Linked DNA regions of Homo sapiens: region 2 is linked to region 1. Evidence: promoter capture Hi-C in human tissues and cell types (Jung and others, 2019). All regions are on one chromosome and are shown on one strand. The core of a region is centred on a gene start or on the middle of the fragment in contact, and the rest is flanking DNA. Distances in the headings are between cores, read along the strand shown. Region 1 holds the start of KLRK1 (killer cell lectin like receptor K1). Region 2 overlaps LOC112268104 (a long non-coding RNA gene).

Evidence for each region. The method cuts DNA at HindIII sites, captures the fragments that hold promoters and counts their contacts. A contact is called where the count stands out against the background at its distance.
Region 2: a contact is called between a fragment that was not itself captured here and the fragment with the promoter of KLRK1 in region 1, in 1 of the 25 tissues and cell types used here (hippocampus).

Annotation. Positions count from the first base shown.
Region 1 is chr12:10,388,183-10,393,700 of GRCh38, reverse strand. It overlaps KLRK1 (killer cell lectin like receptor K1), which reads left to right and starts at 3,660. Exons shown (of 8, transcript NM_007360.4): 1 at 3,660-3,758; 2 at 4,826-4,930. The coding sequence starts at 4,891. KLRC4-KLRK1 (KLRC4-KLRK1 readthrough) reads left to right here. Exons shown (of 13, transcript NM_001199805.1): 6 at 1,810-1,866; 7 at 4,826-4,930. The coding sequence starts at 4,891. The region is part of intron 3 of KLRK1-AS1 (KLRK1 antisense RNA 1); the gene reads right to left. The HindIII fragment of the contact is 5,458 bases long and covers 343-5,518 here.
Region 2 is chr12:10,724,705-10,729,598 of GRCh38, reverse strand. LOC112268104 (a long non-coding RNA gene) reads left to right here. Exons shown (of 4, transcript XR_002957443.2): 4 at 3,320-3,407. LOC124902876 reads right to left here. Exons shown (of 2, transcript XM_047429946.1): 2 at 4,281-4,562. The coding sequence ends at 4,493. Among named protein-coding and RNA genes, the nearest start is that of YBX3, 3.8 kb to the right of the region's middle. The HindIII fragment of the contact is 5,604 bases long and covers 1-4,398 here.

The DNA.
Region 1 (5,518 bases), core at 2,411-4,910:
TGTCTTTAGGCACTTGTGGTAAGTAATGTCACAAATTTAAGTCATCTTCAAAATTCTAGACTTCTTTGATATTTGAAGCACTGAAGTAAACACAAAATCCATTTGAATCCAAGATGCAGAAGTCGTTAAAGGCATCGTTCCATCTATGAATGTGGAGATTATCACTATAGCAGGAAATGGAAGGTTTAATGGCAATCAAATAAGCAATCAGAGAAAAGTAACCAGGATGCTAATAAAAAATATGATGTCATCTGACCTGCAAATCATGCATGTGACTTACTTGAGAGCAATTGTTTAAAGTTACTATTTATGTATGGCTATTTATGCACAATTATAAAGATAATACCAGAGTGGGAAAAACACTTTTCTGTTCCGTTATACCATATAGATTGCAATTAAACAATCAAAACAATGGTGTGTCCTAGCATGGATTAAGTTAATATAACACAAATATTTGCTAAAGATATTTCAATTGAATTGCTAAATTTTAGAATTATACAAAATTTCAACTGAGATGGGGCAAAAAAATCATTTAATCATTCCTGGCTTAGGAAGCTGTGCCAGAGAAAATTAATTAATTGCCAAGATGATGACCTGTTTTTCCCCAAAGTATAAATTCCAGATTTATGGAATCTCTGCCTTGAGTTCATATAATTACAATACACCAGTTAACATTATATGTCAGTATGTGTAGCCCAGTACTTAATACCTAGCTGAATGGAAAATAGGTTCTGAAAATATATATATACATATTTCTTAAAATATGTTTGCAGACTTTTTTACTTTTACATTAGTCATCATTTCACTTCTGCTTCAATATGCCCATGCGTGTCCAGACGAGACTGGATGCATCATGGTGGTGTGGCCATAGATGCCCCTGCATATCCAAAGACTCAGCTCTATTTCTTCCACTCCTTTTTATTTTCTTTATTGTCCATGTGAATTTTAAAAATTTGTCCTTTTTGACATGTCTTTTGTCAATTCAAACACATTTACCAAAAGGTCAAGATTACAAAATTTTTGCTTGGCAATAGCTGCACATCTTAAGCTTTCATATTTGGGCAAGCGTCCAGTAAACGCCTCTGACCACATCCAGCTTTAGTGTCACAGCTTGAAGCCAGCAACCTGCCAAGCACTCTGTTTCTAACCACAAGTTGGCTGCGTGTTAAGTCTTTCCTGTGTACCAGAAGAGAAGGGTTTTCTGAGGCCACAGTGCGAGTTAGCTTACTGACCAAAAAGGCCGGTTGATTGTTGGCTCTTCTCAACTAATGAAAGTAATTAAATAGTTTATTGTGGTGATGGATGTTCTCAAATGACTTGAGCCCAGGCTGTTTGCAAAATATTGTAATTTTTCTTCTAACAATAGTTTTTGAAAGTTATATAGATACGTCTATATGAAGTTTGTTCAGGTACTTTTATAGTCAAATTATTCTTTCTGCAGAAGTTAATTGCGTTGGTTTTATTTCACTTATTAGAAAGTATTTTATCTGAAAACTATGCTATGTCCTTTTGCAATTCACATAGAATAAACCAGTACAAATGCCCAGCAAATCCCCAATAAGTTTACTATCATGACTACAGCAAAGTGAGTGTATGTTCAACATTGAGAAAGAAATTGGAGTTTTAACATACTATTTCTTTATCTAACTAATTGTTTTAACCCGACATACAGGACCCATTTTAGAATTTTCTTCTTTAAGAATCCTTTCCACACTCTGTCAGTTGGTTTAGGGACCTTTATATATGACAATAAAACTCTCCCTGGTGCTTAGCTTTATCATGGTATTTATTTCAGAAATCTTCTTTTAGGTATGTGTGGGGACTTCCCAGTTGGCTGTAAGTTGCCATTTGAACTAAACGAAATAGGTAGGATATTCAAATGTTCTTTTTTATCCTATTCCTATCCCCCTTTTCTCAATTCTGTATTTAAGAGACAATCTCTATTCAATCGAAAACTACATATATAAAAATAACTCTTCAGGAAATTGTGATTCAGGTTTTTCCCATAAAAAGCCTGCATTTACTCATTTATTCATTTCCTTTCAAAAACCAAATATTTGTTAAAATGTAGTTGTTAGAAAATATCAGCCTATATTTCCTCTATATAGATCTATTTTTACTATATAAAATAGCTAATAGAAAATGTTGATTAGCTGAAAAGAATCTTGGTATGTCAGAAAATAACATATTTTCTTCAACTTGTTTTATATTCACCTATCTTGTTTAATTTTGAATTTGTTTTATACTTATTCATTTTATATCACCTAAACTAAAAAGTAATTTCCAGCTGGGTGTGGTGGCTCACGTCTGTAATCTCAGCACATTGGGAGGCTGAGGCAGGAGGATCACCTGAGGTCAGGAGTTCGAGACCAGCCTGACTAACATGGTGAAACCTCGTCTCTACTAGAAATACAAAAATTAGCCAGGTGTGGTGGCACATGCCTGTAATCCCAGTTATTCTGGAGGCTGAGACAGGAGAATTGCTTGAACCCAGGTGGCGGAGGTTGCAGTGAGCCGAGATCGCCCCGTTGCACTCCAGCCTGGACAACAAGAGTGAAACTCCATCTCTTAAAAAAAAAAAAAAAAAAAGTAATTAATTTCCATGTGGGCAAAAACTTTCTTTTGGATTGTTTACTTTGACATTCTCAAGATCTAGAAAAGTGCATAGCAAATAGCATTCGCTAAAGAAAAAAAATGTTGAATAAATTTATTGTCCAACTTTAACACATCACCACATGAAAGCTGTTTTCCTTCCTTATATTTCAGAGTTTTAAGATTAATAGCTTTGGTTTTTGTTAAAATGTTATAATGTGTTCATCTTATATTACTTTATATGATGTCTTATGTTAGTATTTTAAATTAATAAACATAAAATATATATTTAGCTTATCTTGTTCATTGGTATCAATTCATATATTATTCTTATGTATACTGGGGTATATATTTAAGTTTCTAATTCTCCTGCATATGATGTAGATATGACAGAGATGCAATTTCATGTTTTTTATATTAAAATTTAAAAATTCCCAGGACTAATTTTTTGTAACTTAAAGGCCAGTGTGATAGTAACCCAGGACAAATTATTGAATAGGAGCTAATTTCCCACTTTATCTGCAATGTTACCTTATATTTTTTAATCTATGCACATGACTTTTTCTTGTCTGTATTTTTACCCTTCTCAATTTGTCTATCTATGCCCCACATGCCACTTTGCCTTTATTAATACGGTTTTAACATAGGTCTTACTATCTAGTAAAACAAGGCTCCCACATTTTCTTCATCTTCAATTGTGACTTTCCTAGTCTTGACTTTTGTAATTTAATGTACATGTAGAATTCTGCTTTGTAAGTTCTACAACAAAACCTGAGGTATTAACTGGAATTGAATTGAATCTCTAAAATATTTAGGATTAAATGGCATCATTTAAATTCATCATTTTCAAATCCTAAAATGTTATTTAAAATAATGGCAAAACTACAATTACTTTTGCACCAACCTAACATTTATCCAACAATGGGTGGTCTTAACTCTTTTACCAAATTAACAATATTTTTGTAGTGATAAGGCGGAAGTACTGTGGTTTATGTTTTTCCACAGGAAGATGAGATTATAATATTTGTCACATCTTTCTCAAAGATAGAAATTCACTAAGTATCTCCACTTTCAATTCTAGATCAGGAACTGAGGACATATCTAAATTTTCTAGTTTTATAGAAGGCTTTTATCCACAAGAATCAAGATCTTCCCTCTCTGAGCAGGTGTGTGTATGTGTGTATGTGTGTGTGTTTATTATTCAAGATATGAGAAATTATATTTCAACCTCAAAAAAATAAAAATATTTACACTATAAGGTAATTCTAATTGTTTCTTAGATGCTTGAATAGAACTCCTGAGGATACGGAATGCTTATCATTTCTGATGTATATTCTATCACTGTATCTGATGATAGGTAATTAGGATATACTTATTGAAGAATCAGAAGTTGTAATATTACTATAAGAAGAAGCCTTGTCTCTAAGCAAAACTAGAAAAATGAATCTTTACATTTAGGATGAGAAGAATTGAGATTCAATTTAAATTGTCAAATTTTTGAGTTTTCTGATGCTGTAGGGGGCACTTACCTTTGATACACATCTTTACATGCAAGGTGAAACAAGTTATATCTGTGCTTTCCAACTATCATAATCAAATATGAAATAGCTTTTATTTTTGAAATCTAAGCACTATGCTTATTTATTAAATGGTTTTTTCTGGAAGCTCTGCTGTGCATTGCTAAGATGTTACTATATAAACATGTGAGATTAGTTTTGTTAATGATGATGGTGATGATAATTTGTTGATGATGATGATATGGGCACGTTGGATTAAAATGCACTAGAAAAGGACATTCAACAAAAGTGCATATAACTTACCTGAGTTTAGCTTGCAGAAAGAAAACTAAATTATTGCCAGATAAAATAAACAACTGGAAACACTTGATCTTAGCTAAAAGGCCAAGAAGCAATAAACGACTATAAACAGAAAACTGGGTGTGTTGTTATCTAATATCAGTAAAGTAAAATATTGGTATTAAATATCTCAATGTAGGTGAATTAATAGGTTCATTATATTGTTATGACATTTTGAAGTAATTGGCGATTATTTTACAACCAAGAGAAATGTATAAAATTAATTTTGCCTGGCTTTATGTGAATTGTCATTTCTATTCTTTTCTTAAAGGCATGCACAGGGGAAAAGTTTCTGCATTTTACTTTTCTATTCAAAATATTTTATCTCACCACGGGAAAGAGAACAAAAAACAAATGCCCAGTTTTATTTTATTCAGGAATCCTTTGTGCATTGAAGACTTTAGATTCCTCTCTGCGGTAGACGTGCACTTATAAGTATTTGATGGGGTGGATTCGTGGTCGGAGGTCTCGACACAGCTGGGGTATGTTTTTACCACATAAGTGTGTAGTTTTGTTTTTATACAATTTTAAGATACCAAGAATTTCATACAAGCATATAAGGCATAGGCAAGCAATTTACTCTGATTCTTTTCATGTTCTATTTATGTTGATTTCATGTTATGTTCATATTGTATTTTAAATCAAGTCTTCCAAAACTTAAAAACTTTTTTCCCTTTATTTTATTAACTATATTATGGTAAAGTCGCTCACAACTTGGGACAGCTTGAAATAGTGAAATAGATGTGGAGTCAGACTTGAATTTTACTCAAACTTTTACCGCTCTCTAGATTTGAAGGGTCAATTTGCAACCTCTGTGTAGTTTAGTTTAGTTTCTTTTTCTATCAAATACAGGCATGAAACATTCCATATTTATCTTAGATTTGTGTAATATTCAAATCAACTGACATGTATGTTAAAGCACTTTTTATCCTAAAGGTGTTTATAAATTTATAACTTATTCACAGTTGGTAACATTATATTAAATAAGCTTTATGATTTTGGCCATCTCTAGCATTCAATTTCTTCATCCATAAAGTGATACCTACTCTCTTTACTCCATATGTAAAATA
Region 2 (4,894 bases), core at 347-2,846, 340 kb before region 1:
GGGACCTTTTGGGGGCATTTAGGTCATGAGCACAGGACCTCACCAATAGGATTGGCACCCAAAAGAGACCCAAGGGAGCTTGTTAGCCTTTTTGTCCTTCCACCATGTAAGGACCCACTGAAGGCAACATCTATGAAGAACAGGCCTTCACCAGACACCAAACCTGCTGGTGCCTTGATCTGCAACTTCCCAGCCTCCAAAACTTTAAGCAATGCATTTCTGTTGTTTAGAAAGTACCCAGTCTAAGGTATTTTTCTATAGCACCCCAAACAAATAGTTATCCCATCATAATACTCGTTTTTGCTAAAATTCTGCTCCCTACCATGCCACGCTTACGAAAAGACCAACAGTGATGGATGCAAGGGATTTGGCAAAAGCAAAATAAAAGAAAATAAAAAACTAGAAATATTTTGCTCACAGTACAGTAAAATTTCTGGAGATCTAAACCCTTGAAAGAAGCAGATATTATACTTCTTGTTTATATTTAGTCCATAATGTCAAAATAAATACATATTCAGATATACATTAGCAAATACTACTATTTTGTGGTCGTCTGTGTGTGTGTGTGTGCATGTGCACATGCATTTTTTTGAACATATATATATATATATATATATATATATATATATATATAATTACCTTATCATTTGGAAGTTAAAACTTGGATGGAATTTTAACAAATCTTTCTCTCTTGGAATTTTCTTAGGAACCAGTTTTCTTTCTCCCAAATTTTCTCATTCTCAATTTCTACTCCAAAGTTCCCATGTTAAAGGAACATCAAAATCCAATTAAACAGATGTCTCCAAAAGATGAGTATTTAAATAGATCATTACGGTGAGCCACTAGGGATGCTAATAGAGATCAAATGAAAGTCTGACTAAAAGGAAGAGTTCAATTCAAAGAGAAGAGAAGGAAGAATTTTGAAAAATTCTTTGAAAACTGAAGAAGAGACACATTGGATGATTTTCCTCTCTGTTTGCTGTTTGAGAGTCCCTTTTCCTCTTTGTTTGCTGTTTGAGAGTGCATTTTTAAGAATTATGATATCTACCAAGAAATAAAAGACACTATATCTTCTAGACAAGAATCTAGACTTGACATTCTCTGAGATTTAATTCCTAAACAAGTGAGGACATAAAGGGAGGTGACAAAGAAAGTTAAAAGAATAAAGAAAGCAGATTAAAACAGAAAAAAAGAGAAAAAATAGTATGTGCAAAAAGAGACAGAATAAAGCTTTTTTAGGAAGAAGAGAATATATTTTATTCATTGTTTCAGAACGTTCCAAAATGCTGTAAAATAAAATTGCACACAGCTGTTTGGTTTCCTCTCCAGAGGTCCTAATTGGAAAGATCTGAACATTACCTTCAGTGGCCAGAGAGCCTTGCTTTATTTCTTTTCTTAAGACAGGATCTCACTCTGTCACCCAGGCTAGAGCACAGTGGCATGATCATGGTTCACTGCAGCCTCGACCTCCCGGGCTCAAGTGATCCTCCCACCTCAGCCTCCTGAGTAGCCCTGAGTAGCTGGGACTACAGGCATGCACCACCATGTCCAGCACAGCTAATTTTTGCTGGTTTTTGTTTTGTTTGTTTGTTGTAGAGACGGGGTTTTGCTATGCTGTCCAGGCTGGTCCTGAACTCCTGGGCTCAAGTGACCCACCCGCCTCGGCCTCCCAAAGTGCTGCCTTGCTTTATTTTTGAGGGGACTCAATGCTACAGCATTGACATTTTGTCAATCAGAATTTTATGGTGGCAAGGGCGCTGAATTGGGTATAAGGAGACTCAGGTTTTGGTTCTAGCTTTGCCACTAAATACATAAATTAGTTCGAGAAAGTCAGTTAATCTCTGAACTGCAATTCCTTGTTTTTAAAATGAGTGGGGTTGAGATGGATACATTTCTTTCTAGTTCTTACTTATCAGATAATCTTGTCAAGTTCTTCCACCAAAACTGTACCAATCTCCTAGTCTTTAAACACTAAGAACACATCTAAATAGTTAAGAAAATAAGTAGAAGCAAAACAAATGCAACAAAGTCACTTAGAAGCTGGAACTTTTATATAAAATCAATATATGCTGAAATAATCAGGTTTTTCAAAACTTCTCAGTAATCGCTTGTTTTTTTTTTTCCTCCTGCTTAATAATTTCAGGTCTAGAGGTGCAACATTTTCTGAACTCTAAATCCAGCTTCCCATAGGGGAGAGTAAAGTCACAGCCAATTCCCCACCATATTCTCAGTTCTCTTAATGAAAAGGAAGAAATCCTATAATACATCTTCATTATGGTAGGCCAATATATGTGAAAGTTAAAGAAGAAGCATAGTCCATAAAGGCAGTGGTGACAGGGAATGGATATTGTAAATTCACTTTGTTTACATGCCCTAGAGATCATCAGTGACATCATTATAGAGTTATTCAGAATTATGGCATTATGGTTCATGTAAATTCTTTGGATATTATATGTCACAAAGGAAGCTCAAACCAGCCCAACAGGTAGCATTATCTTGCTGGGTAGCCACAGACTGATGTATGGTCCAGCTTTCAGGCCCAGGACTTTTTCCCAATGGAATCCTGAAGAATTATTCAGGTTAAACTTCTAATTGTCTAGAAGGCTTGTGCTACTCAATATGGTAGTCATCAGCCACACCGAACTCTTTAAATGTGAGTTCAAATTGAGATGTCTTAGAAGTGTAAGATACACACTTTGAAGATAGTACCAAAAAAAAAAAAAAAGAGGAATGTAGAATACATCATTCATGGTTTTACCCTTGATTAAATGTGGAAATAATATATATTTTATATTGATTAAGTTAGGTAAAATCTATTAAAATTAATTTCATCTGTTTTTTACTGTTTTATTGTGGCTGCTTGAAAATTTAAAATTAAATATTTGGTTCACATTTGGGGCTCAAATTATATTTCCAATGGGACAGTATGGGTCTATACCATTAATTCATTCAATACAGGGGCATTCCTGCCTGTTTTGCATGATGTTCTTAGCACCAAATTGCAATGATTAATAAATGTGCTGAATGCATTACTACTGAGTGCCAAACAGAGCGTGATAACCAAGGTCCACTCTCCCCCTGAACATTGCTGGAGACATCCTGAAATACCTTTACTCTCTTATTCTTGCACTTTTTTGTTCCAAACTGACCATTTCCCTCATGTTCTTTTTTGTATCAATTAAGTTGAGATTAATACTTCACTGTTTTCCAGTTTCAAATATGCTAATACACAAAGCTTCCTTATTTTAAGCTCCAGTCCCTTGAATAACTTGAATTCTCCTCAATCTCCTTAGTCAATTAATTGCATTTTCTTCCTTAGGGTGATATGCTGGATAGCCTCCTGTCAATTTAGCATCAACTTTAGCTTCTTCAAATGCAGAGACTACATTTCCCAGAATCTCCCTCCCGGCCTGTATATTTCCAAGTTGGAATCTAACAATGAGAGCCTTTCGCTCAAAGTTTAGAAGGAAGAAGAGAAGACCATTATATACCAGAGTCAGTTATAGAAAGATGCATCGGCATCAAAGCTGCTTCCAGATGAACTTCTTGAGGACTTACTGCATCGGTGTTGCTGACTGAGATAGCAGGTGCAGGAGTAAAGCTAATGAAGTTTAAATTTCAGGGCTCCTGTCTTGCACGGACCCTTTCGAAGACTCTGGGAGCAGTCCTAGCATTTTAGTATTCATAACTTTATTTTATCTCAAAAAGGGCTCTCTAAATTGTATTAGTTTTAAGCATCACAAAACCTGAATCCAGCCCTGAATTGCTGAGAACTTCCGAAAGATCTTGTGGCTCCAGTGGCTTCAGGAGAACTCCTGAGAACCACTGTCTTGGGGACTGGAGGCTGAGATCTTCAGTGGAGCTTCTCTGAGTTTCCCTCCTTCAGCCCTTCCAACAGTTGTGAGAGCTTTAACTTCCTCCATACTAGGAACAGAGTGGCATTTGTTTTTATGATCAAACCAATAATTGCTTAAAAATGACTGCTGTCAGCAATTAGATTATAATTCTTTGTTGACTTACTCTTAAACTTAGTAAATGATGATATTGTCTTACAATAGAAATGTTGATAGTGAAAAATAATTTTAACATCATATCAAAAGACCTTACAACCGGCTCCATTTTGGTCAACATTGGATACTCACAATGGTGTACTTTGTCCGGGACATAGCATTTGCTTAGCAAATATGAGTGTATGAATTAGTGAATGAAGGAATGGATAAATTTATGTGTATCTGTATCCAAGTTGCTTCCTACTTATGATTATTAAAACATAGATCATATTTGTTCTAATTTTCTTTAGATTTATTTAGTACAATACCAACAACTTCCAGCTGCTCACTGCTTTGTTTGGATGACAATGATGAGTAGTTTTGGAAGCCAGTCCAGCACAAATTCTAGGAAATCCCAGGGTGCATCTGTAATTATTTTAGGGTCTTCCAGAGGTTGGAGATCACACCTGTTAGTTATGAATTACTTCCAAGGATGAATTTTTTTAAAAGGCTTTACTGTTGGATCGGTTTGAAGAGTTCAATCTCCTTACTTTTTTTTCTTGTAATGTAATTCTGAAAGGTAAATAGCAATGATAATCATTTTGCTGAATAAGAAAGTCAATGGTCAGTCCTCACCAGAATAAATCATGTTTATAATTTAATTGTAATTAAGACCATAATCTTTCACATGAAGAAATAATTTAATCATTCTTAGAATTAGACCAGCATTTTAAAAGCATCTACATTTATATAACATCACTGTATGCTCCATACTGAAGTCAAACTAAAATATGAATCTAACATTTAAGAGTTTGTAATTTTTTAAATATTGATGAATTACATAGAAAAGCTCAAAATTACATAATTTGCTATTTTTTCAAATAACTTATTTTCTTTGTGTTTTT